2 separate regions of the Homo sapiens genome follow, and region 2 is linked to region 1. Evidence: promoter capture Hi-C in 16 types of primary human blood cells and fetal thymus (Javierre and others, 2016). All regions are on one chromosome and are shown on one strand. The core of a region is centred on a gene start or on the middle of the fragment in contact, and the rest is flanking DNA. Distances in the headings are between cores, read along the strand shown. Region 1 holds the start of NKX2-3 (NK2 homeobox 3). Region 2 holds the start of TLX1NB (TLX1 neighbor).

Region 1 (6,359 bases), core at 2,791-5,290:
GCAGTGGGGCGCAGCGCAGCGCCCCCGGGCGCGTTGGTAGCCCTGGCTGCAGCCAGGGAAGGAGCCGCCTTCGCGCGGCCAACAGCTGGGACTGCGAGCGAGGCTTCCTTTTCCCTGGCGACCCTCGAGGTGGGGCAGAGTGCAAGACTTGACCGAACGCAGGTCTATACAGCTAGTCCAAGCATCTGGGTAAAACTTAGGGGGAACTGCAAAGCCAGGGACTTCAAATGGCCCTGAGCCTTCGACCTGTCCAGCCCTCAAGAGTAAACAGAAATTAATGAACAAAGCCCCGAAGAGATCAGACTTGCAGCCTGGGGCCTGGCTCATGGGAGACCAGGCCTGCGATCGCCCAGGGAGGATGGCTTTCCCCCTCGCACCTTTTCCTCCCCTTCCCGCCCTATTTAAAGGATTCCTCTCCACTCTTTGGGGCTAAACAAATTCTGTAGCCGGCCAACGATTTGAAAATATTGCACCTTGTTTATTGACTCCTGTAGTGTGTGGCAGCGGGTGTCTACACGGCGTGTGGTTATAGTTATATAGATAGATAGATAGATAACATGTGCTGAATACAGAATACGAAACAGAAAGGAAACCCGGTAACACCTCCGGTGGGCCACCAGGTCCTGAGTTTGTTCAGCCTCCCCCCACCCCCAACTTTTGATCTCATTCGGCTGGTTTTCCTCGAAGAGTCCTGCGTCCCCCGACAATCCGGAGATCTGGACCGAGGTATCTGCTGCGGAGGGGAGACAGCTGCGAAACGAAATCGACTGTGCTATGGCGCTCCAGGCCCGCAAAGGGGGCAGAGGATCGGTAGGGCCTGGAATTTCTCAAGCCACGACCCCCATTTTTCTCTCCTTCATGCTTTTAATTTGTTATGTCCTTGGGCTCCCCGCCAACGCTTCGCGGAGGCCGCGGAAAGGCAGAGGGAGAGAAGCCCTTCTCGCTTTGGAAGAACCAAGCGCGGCCAGGGTCCTAGCCTCCTGGTCTCCTCTCGCTGCCAGGGTCGGGGCCATCGTCCTCCCCGGCGCCCAGCCGGCGTTTCTGCCTCAGAGACAGTCCTGGCGACCGGACCCAGTCATCCTCCTCGCCCCTGAGTCCCCTTCCCCAGGCCTCGAGTGAGCTGCGATCCGAAGCCCTGAGGAGCTAGACGTACATATTTTTTTAACGAGGGGACCTGACCTTTAGGTCAGGCCCTTCTCGAGCTTCAGTCCCGCGGCGCCAGGCTGCGCTGGGGTGCCCGCCGCGTGACCCGCCCCGTCCCTACCAGGCCCGGATGCCCTGCAAGGTGCCCTGAGCGCACGCGGCCCCGGCTGCAGTACCCTGGTGCAACGGCTGTGCGCTGCCGCCGCTGCCGAAGCCTCCTAGGTTGCTCACGTTCACAAAGGGGCCGCCTCCGGCCGCGCTGCAGGCGGGCTGCATGGCAGTGGTCGCCGCGGAGGTCCCGCCGCCGCCGCCGCCGCCGCCCGCCGGGTACGCACAGCCATAGCTGCTGCTGTAGGCCGCCGCTGCTGCGGCGGCGGCGGCGGCGGCGGCGGCGGCCGCGGCCGAGTTCCCATAGCCGTAGGCGGGGAAGCTGTTGTAGGAGTAGGCGCTGGCGCCCACGCTGTAGGGCGCGCCGTAGGCCTGCGCGCTGGGCGTGACGCACGGCTTGCCGTCCCGCACCAGCACCGGGACAGCCACGCGGCGCGGCGGCGGCGGGGGCGCGTGTGCGCCAAGCTCCAGAGACTTGTCCTGCCGCTGTCTCTTGCACTTGTACCTGCGATTCTGGAACCAGATTTTCACCTGAGTGGATGTGAGCTTCAGGCTGCTGGCGAGGTGCTCGCGCTCGGGTGCCGACAGGTACCGCTGCTGCTTGAACCTGCGTTCCAGCTCGAAGACCTGGGCTTGCGAGAAGAGGACCCGGGGCTTCCGGCGGCTGCGTGGCTTCGGCCTCTCGCTCTCCTCCGCCGCCTTGCAGTCTCCGGCCGTCTCTAGAGACTTCTTCAGCTGGCAGCTTTCTGCGGAAGAAGCAAACAACAGCGTCCTTAGCTGTTCCCGGCCGCACCGCGGCTCCTGTCCTGGAGCACCGTGACCCTTTTTGGTGGCTGCGCAGAGCGTGCGGTAGTAAATGGCTGGACTTTTGGGAACGTTTGTGGCTCCTGGCGCTGTGGGACCCTGAGACAGCCCCAGTACCCAAAGAACGCCCTTAGCAGGCGGAGGCGCGTTTCGTGGAGAGGGGTAGTTAGTGCGTGTTTATTTGGATCTTGAGCATCTGCGAGAGAAGAGATTACTCTGTATTAAATATGCGGCTCGACGTGCTAATGACTATTTTCAGGATGAAGGCTTGCAACTACATAATAACTACAGTATTTGCAAACTCGTTTGCATTCTACTCCACCAAGGATAACTGAAGGTGTGAGGCGTGTTGGTATGAGTGGGCCGGTGGGCATGGGTTGCGCGAAAATCTGTTCTGAGTGTAACGCTTGTGCATGGCTCAGGGACTTGTGTGTGTGTGTGGCTTATAAAAGACTACAAGCGAATGTTATGACGACATCTGTGTGCACTTTGAAAATGAAGTTTGATTGACTAGTTATAGACAGTTTCATGCCGATTTTCGGCTCTGGGAACTATGAGAGCATAGGCCTTGGCCTCTGCCACATCAAACCGCCTCTTGGGGAAAGACTGTGATTCTGTCCTCTTAAATACACTTCCTTGGGGACTTTATTTGATTATCCCATCTCCCTATCAATTCACTTCCCATCCGATGTGAGCAGCCAAGATCTCGGACTCAAGTTCGGCGCGTTTTCTATTAGGCCCGCAGCCTGGGACACAAAGCAAAACGTTACGGATTTTCAAAAAAGGCTGGCGCCTTAGGGATGTGAGAGCTATGGTCGCGCGGAATAGACATTGTTCCCACGCACTTTCCGATCATCTCCTCTCTCTCTACCGAGTGCCACGGGTTCAAGGACGCTGAGCTCCAAGCAGAGAAGGGAGGAAACCGCCCAGCTGGCCTCCACCAAAGTTCCTGCCCCTGCGGGTGCGAGAGACACAGGCTGCTTGGGCTGTCTTTTCGGAGAAGAAGGGGTGGCTGCCCTGGGCTAAGAGAACTCATCTCACCCTAGAGGGAAAACGAAAAAGGTCCAGGCTCCTGCCCTTTTTGGGGGAAGAGCCTTTTGGGGCGGGGGGAAGAGCAAAAATACTGCCAGTTATGAGGACCCAGGCGCTGAGCCCACGTCGCCTCTCAGCATCAGGGCAGCAGTAACCACCTTCCCTTCCCTCATTTCCCCCTTTTGGGGGGAGTAGTTGTCAGGGTCACCTCGTCCTTGTCTCTCCACCCCGGCTCCCTTGCAGGTACCTGCGCTTTGTGGAGCTGTCGGTGACCAGGGCGGAGGCATGGCCCCAGCCAAAGGGTAAAGGGATGGGCAGCTGCGCTGGCAAGGTCTGTGGGCTGTTTGTGTGCGCTCTGCCATTGCTCCAGGTGTGCGGGTGCGTTTTCTTTCCCCCTCTACTCACTTTGGCTCCGGTCCCTCACGACCTCGGGCTCCTCTTCATGTTCCTTGGGCTCGCTGCACGAGTCTCGCAGGACCGTGTGGACATAGCCCTGGGGACACAGCCCTGAATCCCCGTGGCCGTCTGCTGCGGCTAGTGAGTTCAAATAGGACAATTTCTCGCCCTCGTCTTCCTCGTCCTCCTCCCCTCCGTCAGAAAATTGCGTCCCCTCAGCGGCGGCCAGCATGCAGGGCGCAGAGTGGAAGTGGTGCTCCAAGTCCGCCTGCAAGTGCGCACCATGGAAGTGCTGGTGCTGCTGCTCCAGATTCAAAATGTCTTTGACTGAGAAAGGGGTGGAGGTGACCGGGCTTGGTAACATCATCAGGGCCACTTAATTGTCCAGTCCAAATAATAAATCCCGGCGGGGGCGGGGAGGCAGCGCGGCGGCTCCAGCTCTCCTCCTGGACTCCGCCGCTGCTGCCGAGTCGGGCTTTTGACAGACGCGGTCCCACTCCAGTCTAAATCGCCTCCATTGGCCGGGACCTGGGGGTCTGGGTTTTGTTACAGCCACTGCAGGGACTGGGGCCCGGGCTCCTAAGCCTCTGTCCGGGAGATTTGCGTCACGTTGGGGGGGCGGGGCTGGCGCCCCAACCTCCCTCCCTATAGGTTCTGGCTCATGTGGGCCACGCCCCCTGCTCTCTGCGAGTGGGATGTTGCGGCTCTACCAGAAATAGACAAGGACTAGTATAGAGTCCTGAAGTCCGAGACGCTGCGGGCGAGGCTGCACAGATCCGGTTCCTGAACCATTGATTCCCGCGTGGCTGCACCTTCCCGACCTAGGCCAGTTCTGGGAGGCTTGCTGTCCACGAACCAACGCCAGGGAAGGATGCCCCAGGAGTGTGTTTTTTTCAGCTGCTGCGCGGGGCAGGAAAACTTCCTGGCGGGTAAATACTGGGCGCTGGATCCACGAGGAGATGCAGTGTTTTATCTATCTATGGGTGGGCGACATGTCCTTTTTCAACTTGTTGCCTTTGCTCAAGCTTTCTCTCCACTTGGAACATGTTTCTGACACTTAGCCTCCACGAGTGGAAACTGTTCTCCAAGGAAGAGCTCCTAGATCGTCTAGCCGGAAGTCCCCTCTTTCAGGCTCTGAACCTGCAGCTTGTGTTAGCAAAGGACATGCATGTCACTTATCACTTCCCACTTAATTCTATAGCTGTATGTGCCTGCCTGGTCGCCCCAGTTAGACTGTAAGCTCCATGAGGGCAGTGTCCCGGGGTTGCTTTTGCCCTTGTATCCCTGGCAGCAGCCGCACAGAGCAGTATGTGAAAGGAAGATAGAGTTATGACTAAACTTTGGTATTCGACAGCTCTTGCTTGGCCTAGTCAGTGTGTGATCTTCGGCGTTTCTAAGTCTGTTTTCTCGTCTATAAAACGAAGGCAGTAATACCTTTTTTGGTTGTTGCTAGGGTTGAATGAGGCAAAACATGCCAGAATCTTAGTGCACGGCCTCACGCGTGTTAAGCGCTCAGTACGTGTCAACGACTGCTTTTCTGTATGGGAGGTCAAGCAGTGTTTGTTGACTGCATTGGTGGTGCGTGGCTGGAGTGTGGCACATACTGAGAGCAGGATCTGTCCTCACAAGGGAGGTGACCCAGCCTTGGCAGCCTTCTTTTCCACCTATTGAAATCAGGAGCCTGAATGTAGGCCTTGCCTCTCCGACAGGCTTTTAAAATTTCTCTACCTACACGCCTTCTGGCACCTTCATGAGGCCCTGGTTGTTTTCTGGGGGAGTCTATACAGTCCCCCACAGATTCTGGAAACTCTGAGCTGGAAACTCTGGGACCATCTTCTCCCACAATAGGCATTTGCTCGCTACCAGGCCTAGCCCAGTGAGGAGCAGCGGGCGCTGCTTTGAGGGCCACAGAAAGACCCGTGTGCAGCGCTGGCCTTAAAAAAATAGGGAACGGTTCCAGCTCAACCGTGGCTGTCCTCATCCGGCCCCAGCCAATCCAAGCATTTTTTGGCGGTCAGGATGGCGGAGCTGAAAGAGACCCGTCTCACCTGGAAGGGGCAGGTGAAAGGTGCAGGGACGGTGGACATTGCCTCCGAGCGGCATAAGACACCGGCTGGGAGTGGGTACGAGGGTGGAGGGCTGCCACGCGGGTCCCGCAACGGCGACAGGAGTGGGTGCCCAAGGTTGAAGGGAGAAAGAACAGCCTGTCGGGAGGTGGGAGAGGCGGGGCTCTGCAGAAGGGAGCGGAACTGTTGTGGAGAGGCAGCCCCTGGGTCCGCCCGGGGAGCTGGGATGCCGCGCGGGCCACGTGCGCCCCGGAGTACTTAGGGTAGCGGCGGCCCGCAGGCAGTAGGGAGAGACCCTCTGTGGGCAGGGTCTTGTGCTGGAACCGCCATTCCTCAGCCACAGGGGCGCCCGGTGTCTTTCTGCTTTAAATCCTGAAACTATTGACGCCCCAGGCGGAGACCAGTGTCTACAAACCAGGCGGTGAGTCTGCAGAGGGAGGAATGTGCCTGGTTTTGCCGTGGATCCCGAGCGCTCGGGCACAAAAATTCCGAGGTGGGGGCAGAGGGGTGCACGGCACTGCGGGGTGGCGGACCTCGAGTGTGTGTGCATCACGGTGGCCGCCGAGCATAAAAGCAGGAAGCTGAGCTCCAGCGCCACTTCCCCACCCCACCTCCGGGGCAAAACTGTCTCAGGGGAAATGTTTCTGCTCTCTTCTAGTCCCCAGTTTTCTTCTCCTCGGTGATTTCATGATTCTGGAAAAAGAAAAGGAGAAAGGCTATCGAAACAATCTCTCTCTCCCCAGTTTCCAACCGAAGCCTGCATTTCTCCTTGTTACATTCCCTTGCTTCCCATCTCGCTTCGCTCCTAGG
Region 2 (6,359 bases), core at 1,651-4,150, 1.6 Mb before region 1:
GTACCCAATGTCCCGGGAGTAGTCTTCCCGCCACCGATCACCAGCCTACCGGTGCATTGTTCGTGCCCAAGATAACAGGGCTGGGCCCGGGGTAGGACACCCAGCCGGGAGAGAACGAAAATGAAAAGCTAGCTGTCCTGGGCGGCTAAGCCCCGCTGCCATCCTCCCAGATGAAGCCTGCTCTCCGGAAAAAAAAAAAAAGGCCACTGGTTCTGCTGATTTACCGGGGCTCAGAGCCCCCACTGGCCCCGCAGCACCACGGGCACCGGAGCTAGGGGCGCGAAGTGCATGTGTGTAGGGGACTGGAGGTGGGGGAACCTGTTCTTTTCTTGTGTCTGATCCTGGGGCTCGCTTCCTGGGTCCTAGAACAGCAGCCAGGACGGAAGAAACTGTTCACGTTGCACCCCTTTCTCTAAGATTCCCAGGCCAAGAGTAGCTGCAGAAGGTGGTCCTGAATCTATGGCCTCCTTCTCTCTGCCTGACCCGGCTAGTGGATCCGGAGAGGGGACCAGGGAGAGCTCCTCCGAGCAGGGGTCCTTCGGGAGACAGAGAGGGGTCCAGGCTGAGAGAACTCTTCAAGCATGGCGAGTCTGCGTTATAGAATCGGGCGGGCGGCTCAACTTGGGGGAAGCACCAAGAAGAGCTGGGCGACCTGGAGCGCAGAACCGGCTTTGGGGAGCCACCCGGCGGGGCAGGGGTAGCACGGAGCCCGGGCCGCGGCCAGGCGGGGAGCGCGCGGGCCGGACTCACCTGTGAACCTGTCCTTTGTGTATCTGCGGTTACTCTCCATCCAGGGGAAGGTGAGGCCAGTGAGGTTGTTGACGCCCGGCATGGCAGGCACAGAGGGCACGGTGGGCAAGCCGGTGGCCAGGGGCTGGGGGTGGGCCACGGCTCCGGCGAGCGGCCTGTGTGCCGGCACCCGGATTACCCCCGCAGCGCTGAGTGCCCCGGCACCGCCGCTGCTGCCGCCGCCGCCGCCAGGACCGGGGCCGCCTGCCAAGGCCATGTTCACGTTGTAGGAGCCGGTCAGAGGACCCATGCTGCAGGCGCCGCCGCCGCCTGCCGGGCCTCCGGGGCCGCCGGGACCTCCAGTACCATAGGCCCCCGCTCCTCCAGCCCCCGTCGCGGCCGCGGAGCCCCCGCCGCCGTAAGTGTAGGCGCCTCCGACCAAGCAGCCAAGGCCGTATTCTCCGTCCTGGAGGCGCGAGGCGGGTCCCATGCAGCCACCCTGGTCCGGGCTGTTGAGGATCTGGTCGATGCCGAAGCTAATGGGCTCTGCGTGACCCGGGTGGAGGTGGTGCGGACCCAGGTGCTCCATGCTGGCCCTGGCCCCACCGGGGGGCCCGGGCGGCGGCGCTCGCTGCGCTCGGCTCGGGGGGCAGCTAGCAGGGGCTGGGAGGCAACAGCGGCTCCTGGCTGCGCGGAGACTTGGAAGCGAAGTGCGCAGAAAGGCTAAAGTAGAAGGGGGAGGGGAGGGAGAGAGGGGGCGCCGTATTCTTCCCCTCTCTGGCTTCTGCTTCCCCGCTCCGGCTGCTCGCTCGCTGTTGACTCTGGGACATCAATCACCAGGCGAAAAAGCCCGGTGCAAGAGAGCTTCGCGGTTTCGACTGGGTCTCTCCATTGGCTGTGCGCGGAGAGGAGCGGGGTGAATGACAGCGCGAGGGAGGGGAGGGGAGGGGGAGAGGAAGGCCAGAAGCCGAGACAGATGCAGGAGCCAGAGATAGAGGGACGGAGACCAAGACTCGGAGTAGTTCATGAAGAGAGAGAAGAGGGGAACAAGGCGAGGCTTAAAAGGAAAAGGGAAAACAGGAAGCGACCATTCCCAGAGACGGACAGACAGACAAACCCAAGGAGGGTGAAGTCAACTGTCTTCCCGGCCTGTTGGGAGCCCTCCCCTCACTTTGAACTGGGCCAAAGGAGTCCAGCCCACAAGGCGTCTGAGGAAGGGATGTCTCTGCCCAACTGGAGAATCTCCTCAAGGGCTCAGCTGCGAAACACCTGTCACTCAACCAGGAGATTTACTCCAAATTTCAAGTCCAGCTTTTTAGAAAGTAGAAGACTGTCTACTCCCCAGGTATGGAGCCCAGGCCCTGAGGCAGGACGGTGAGTTCAGGCTTGCCCTTCTTTAAAACACAGGCCTATGAACAACTGGCTATATGTTATAAAAATCAGCAACCACCCCCCAACTCAGCCTTCTTAGACAAATTCAGGAAGGGAACATATCCTGAAAGGCAGGCACAAGTCAAGAGGGTTGGTTTGGGGTCTGCTGCCAGGGTGCCCATGCCTCAACATACCCCTTTGGTTTTAAATAAACAGATGCGTCAAGAAGTAAAATCCTACAGGGTTCGAAAGAGGCAATTCCTACAGTGTTTGAATGAATTCAACCAGATTGCATTCCACCTAACAATTACCCCAGGGTTGGCTATTCCAGACAAGAAGCCTTTGGACTGTGGTGTGTGTTCTTTTCTTACGTTTGGAATCTTGGGAGGGAGCCATAGGGGCTTAAGGCCGTGGGGGCTGGGATTGGTGGGACTAGGATCAGGGAAGTGCATCCAGGACAAATTTAGGCCTTTCCAACGTTTTGCCAGTGGCTGTCTGGCTGAGAGCCCAAGAGAAAAGGAGGAAACTCCCTTTTTCTTCTTCCTGTCTTTCCCCTCTCCAGTAGAAAATGTTTGCTACCTTTTAGAAGCCAAGCTTTGGGAAAGGCACAGGTTCCATCACTTGGGATCTATTTCTGTTCTATTTCAGTTCAGTTTCAGATTAGACTTTTGGGTAGGCCCTGTCTCTATCTGGAAAGATGCTAGGATGTGAAGACTCACATTCTCTCCCATCAAGTCTTATTGCAATCTATTTGCTTTGGGCATGTCTGTCACCTCCACTTGAAGAGATCTTCTTGGAGGCAGAGAGTGGCTTATTCATTTCTGTTCTCTCCTGAAGAATACAGCCCCAAACAACAAAATATGGTCATCTTGGGTGAATAACAAAGAATGTATCTCTTTATTCAATAATATTTATTGAGTACTGTACTCACTATGTGTCAGGCACTGTTCTAGGCATGGGGGACATAGCAGTGAACAAAACAAAGGTCCTGACCTCATGAAGCTTACATTCTATAGAGGGGGTCAGACAATAAGCAAAGAAGCAAATACAACAAGACAGATGTTAGTATTATGGAGAACAATATAAACTCTACACCAATCCTTCGAGATGAGTATTCTCCCTATTTTACAGATGTGAGGAAAGTACATTTCAGAATAGCTATGATTGGTGTGGATCAATATGGAGGAGCTAGACTCAACTTGCTTTTGTGGGTTAGCCTGGAAACCTACGTGCTGGTTGGAAGTTTGTATCTGTGGGGAAAACCTTGTCTGAGCTCTAGCCAGGTGGACAAAGGCCCACTCAAGACAAAGCCAAATGTGAAATTGGTAGTTGTTTGTAAACACTAAGCAGAAGGCTGGGCATGGTGGCTCACACCTGTAATCCCAGCACTTTGGGAGGCCAAGGCGGGCAGATCACGAGGTCAGGAGATTGAGACCATCCTGGCTAACACGGTGAAACCCCGTCTCTACCAAAAGTACAAAAAATTAGCCAGGCGTGGTGGTGGGCACCTGTAGTCCCAGCTACTCAGGAAGCTGAGGCAGGAGAATGGCGTGAACCCAGGAGGCAGAGCTTGCAGTAAGCTGAGATCGCGCCACTGCACTCCAGCCTGGGCAACAGTGCAAGACTCCATCTCAAAAAACAAACAAACAAAAAAAAACACTAAGCAGAAACATGAGAGGGCTCCGCTCCCTCGCCAGTTCTCTTCTTCCCACTTACCCAATCCAGGTACTCTACCCCTTCCCAAGGAGTTCCATAACTTACTTTGGAAGTTGTCTGAACCCGAATGAATCTCTTCCTGCCTCTTATCTTGAGGGAACTAAAGCAGAAATAAATTATTTATTGAAAGACAGTTTTGTGCCAGGTACCACATCATGCTTATCTCATTTAAGACTTATAACAACCCAGGCAAGTTAATAGAAATGTCCCAATTTTTTATAATTGAGAGAATTGAATGAATGTTCATGGCAGTATTATTCATGATAGCCCAAAAGGGGAAACAACTCAGATGTCCACCAACTGATGAATAGATAAACAAAATTTGTTATATCCACACATGGAATATTATTTAGCCATAAAAAGGAAAAGAAGGGAAATGCTGGTTCATGCTATAACATGGATGAACCTAGGAGACTATTCTGCTAAGTGAAAGAAGCCAAGCACAAAGGCCACATATTGTATGATTCCACTTTTATGAAATGTCCAAAATAGGCAAATCCACAGAGGCAGAGAATAGATTAGTGGTTTTCAGGAACTGGGGGCAGCAGGGAATGGAAATTGACTGCTAATGGATACAGAATTCCTTTTGGAGTGATGAAAACATTCTGGAATGAGATAGTGGTGATGGTTACATAACTTTTAAAAATATTAAAACCCACCGAATTATACATTTTAAAGGGGCTGAATATTATAGCACATGAATTATATCTCATTTTTAAAAAGAAAAAAATGGCTGGGTGCAGTGGCCCGTGCCTGTAGTTCTAGCAGCTCTGCAGGGTGAGGCTAGAGGATCACTTGGGGCCAGGAATTTGAGCCTGAGATGTGCTATAATTGCACCTCTAGCCTGGGCAACATAGCAATGCCCCATCTCTAAAAAGAAAATGAAAACTGAGACTCAGTAAAGAGAACAAACTTGCTCCAAGTTCCATAGACAGAGAAGATTGATCTGGAATCTCAAAATCTGAGCTATTTTCCTTGTTTGAGGCTGAAAACTATGGGGAAGGGTACTGCAGCTTTTTTTGAGGCTGGGTCCTAGTGGCCTCACTCCTTTTAGTCTCACCACAGTTTTACCTGCTGCAGTTAAAACCCCATCTTTTGGTGTGGGTTGGTTGAAGGTAAAATTTATAAAACTAAATAAAATAAAATAAAATAAAATAAAATAAACCACCTATCTTTCCAGGTGCACATCTCCAGCTCAGATGGCCTTCCAACCCTTTTGGCATTTGCCTGATCTACCTCTTGAACTCCTCAGATCTGGTATCAGTTGTCCAGGGTACCTGGGAGGAGACTTTACCATTCCTGGCCCAGCTTAAGGTTGGCAGAGTCACCACTCCCTTGTACATGGCCCACTAAGACTGTCAAGCTCTTCTCATTAAAATCCAGCAGCCCAGGGATATACTGACTTTCCCCTGCGATCACAGCCGCTTCCTTGACGGATTTCTTCCTTTTTCCCCTCCTACCTTTTTTGTTTATCAGAGTCAACTTTTATCCCAATTGGGGATACTCCCAACTTTTACCCTCAATGAGGTGCTGGGATTCTGTGAGTCAGCTTAATCCCAGCCTTTGTCTTCCAATAGGGTATTTACTGAGGGCCAAGACTACCCTCTCTGTCCCTTCCTTACCTAGAAAGATGAGACTGGAGGGTCAGGATTTGCTGGGCTCTGGCGCCCACCCCTTCTCCTGAGAGCAGTGTTACCTGAGCACGGTGTTGCAAGGTTGGGAAGTTTTCTGAAACAGGAGAGGAGACTCACACAAGTTTATATTCGCTGCAGCTTCTGTGTTTCCACCGTGCTTTTGCATGCCTTGCAAAACAGCCCTGATAGGAACGAGGAGGGAGGGGAAGAAAGCAGGACTCACAGAGCAACTGCCATGTGTGAGCCACCAGAATGATCTCTCCACTCATCTTTAATCCTGTGATGTGGTTTTTGTTATCCCCATTTTACAGATGAGAAAACCAAGGCACTGAAAGCTGGAAAGGGGCAGACCAGACGCAAACACTGCTTTCTTGACTCCACTCACTACAAGCTGCTTCCTTAAGCCTAAACTTGGCTCTTGCCTCACAGGACTATCTTGCAGGAACCTAGGTGAGTTGCAGATCCTTCTCTCTGGTTCTGAGGCCACCTGGTAACACCCCTCCCCCCAAGCACCGGCTCCCCCTGGCCTGCAGAATAAAAAAGTGCCTCCAATTAAAAGAAGAGCAGCTGGGGCCAGGGCCCGGGCTGGGGGAGGAGGAAAGGACGGGCTCAGCCCAGGGGGAGGCCCCTTTGGATCCCACACAATCTCCTCCTCTTCCCCGCTCTGAAAGAGACCCCCGGGCCAGGGGTTGTCCTTTAGCTTACGGATATGTGTGGAAACTTAATTACTTTGTGTTTGTGGGGCCGTGCATCCACGAGGGGAAAGCTGGATGGGAAAGCCTGTGTGACAGTCAGGATTGAGAGGGCTGTGCAGATGTCCTGGGCATGTCTTTAAGAAATAATTTTAACAATGTATTCAATGAATAATTATAGAGCATCTAGTATGTATCAGGCACTGTGTTAGGCTGT

Evidence for each region. Contacts are between HindIII fragments. The CHiCAGO score rates a contact against its expected background, and 5 or more counts as called.
Region 2: a fragment that was not itself captured here is called in contact with the fragment with the promoter of NKX2-3 in region 1 in 1 of 17 cell types (naive B cells); the score reaches 9.6 in naive B cells.

Annotation. Positions count from the first base shown.
Region 1 is chr10:99,530,623-99,536,981 of GRCh38, reverse strand. NKX2-3 (NK2 homeobox 3) reads right to left here and starts at 4,040. Exons shown (of 2, transcript NM_145285.3): 1 at 3,493-4,040; 2 at 458-1,997. The coding sequence starts at 3,850. The coding sequence ends at 1,261. It overlaps LINC01475 (long intergenic non-protein coding RNA 1475), which reads left to right and starts at 5,805. Exons shown (of 5, transcript NR_120618.1): 1 at 5,805-5,970. RefSeq lists a silencer at 1,528-1,677 and an enhancer at 3,819-4,710. The HindIII fragment of the contact is 5,996 bases long and covers 1-4,510 here.
Region 2 is chr10:101,126,501-101,132,859 of GRCh38, reverse strand. It overlaps TLX1NB (TLX1 neighbor), which reads left to right and starts at 1,714. Exons shown (of 3, transcript NR_130723.1): 1 at 1,714-2,074; 2 at 5,762-5,900. TLX1 (T cell leukemia homeobox 1) reads right to left here and starts at 1,560. Exons shown (of 3, transcript NM_005521.4): 1 at 751-1,560. The coding sequence starts at 1,318. The HindIII fragment of the contact is 408 bases long and covers 2,697-3,104 here.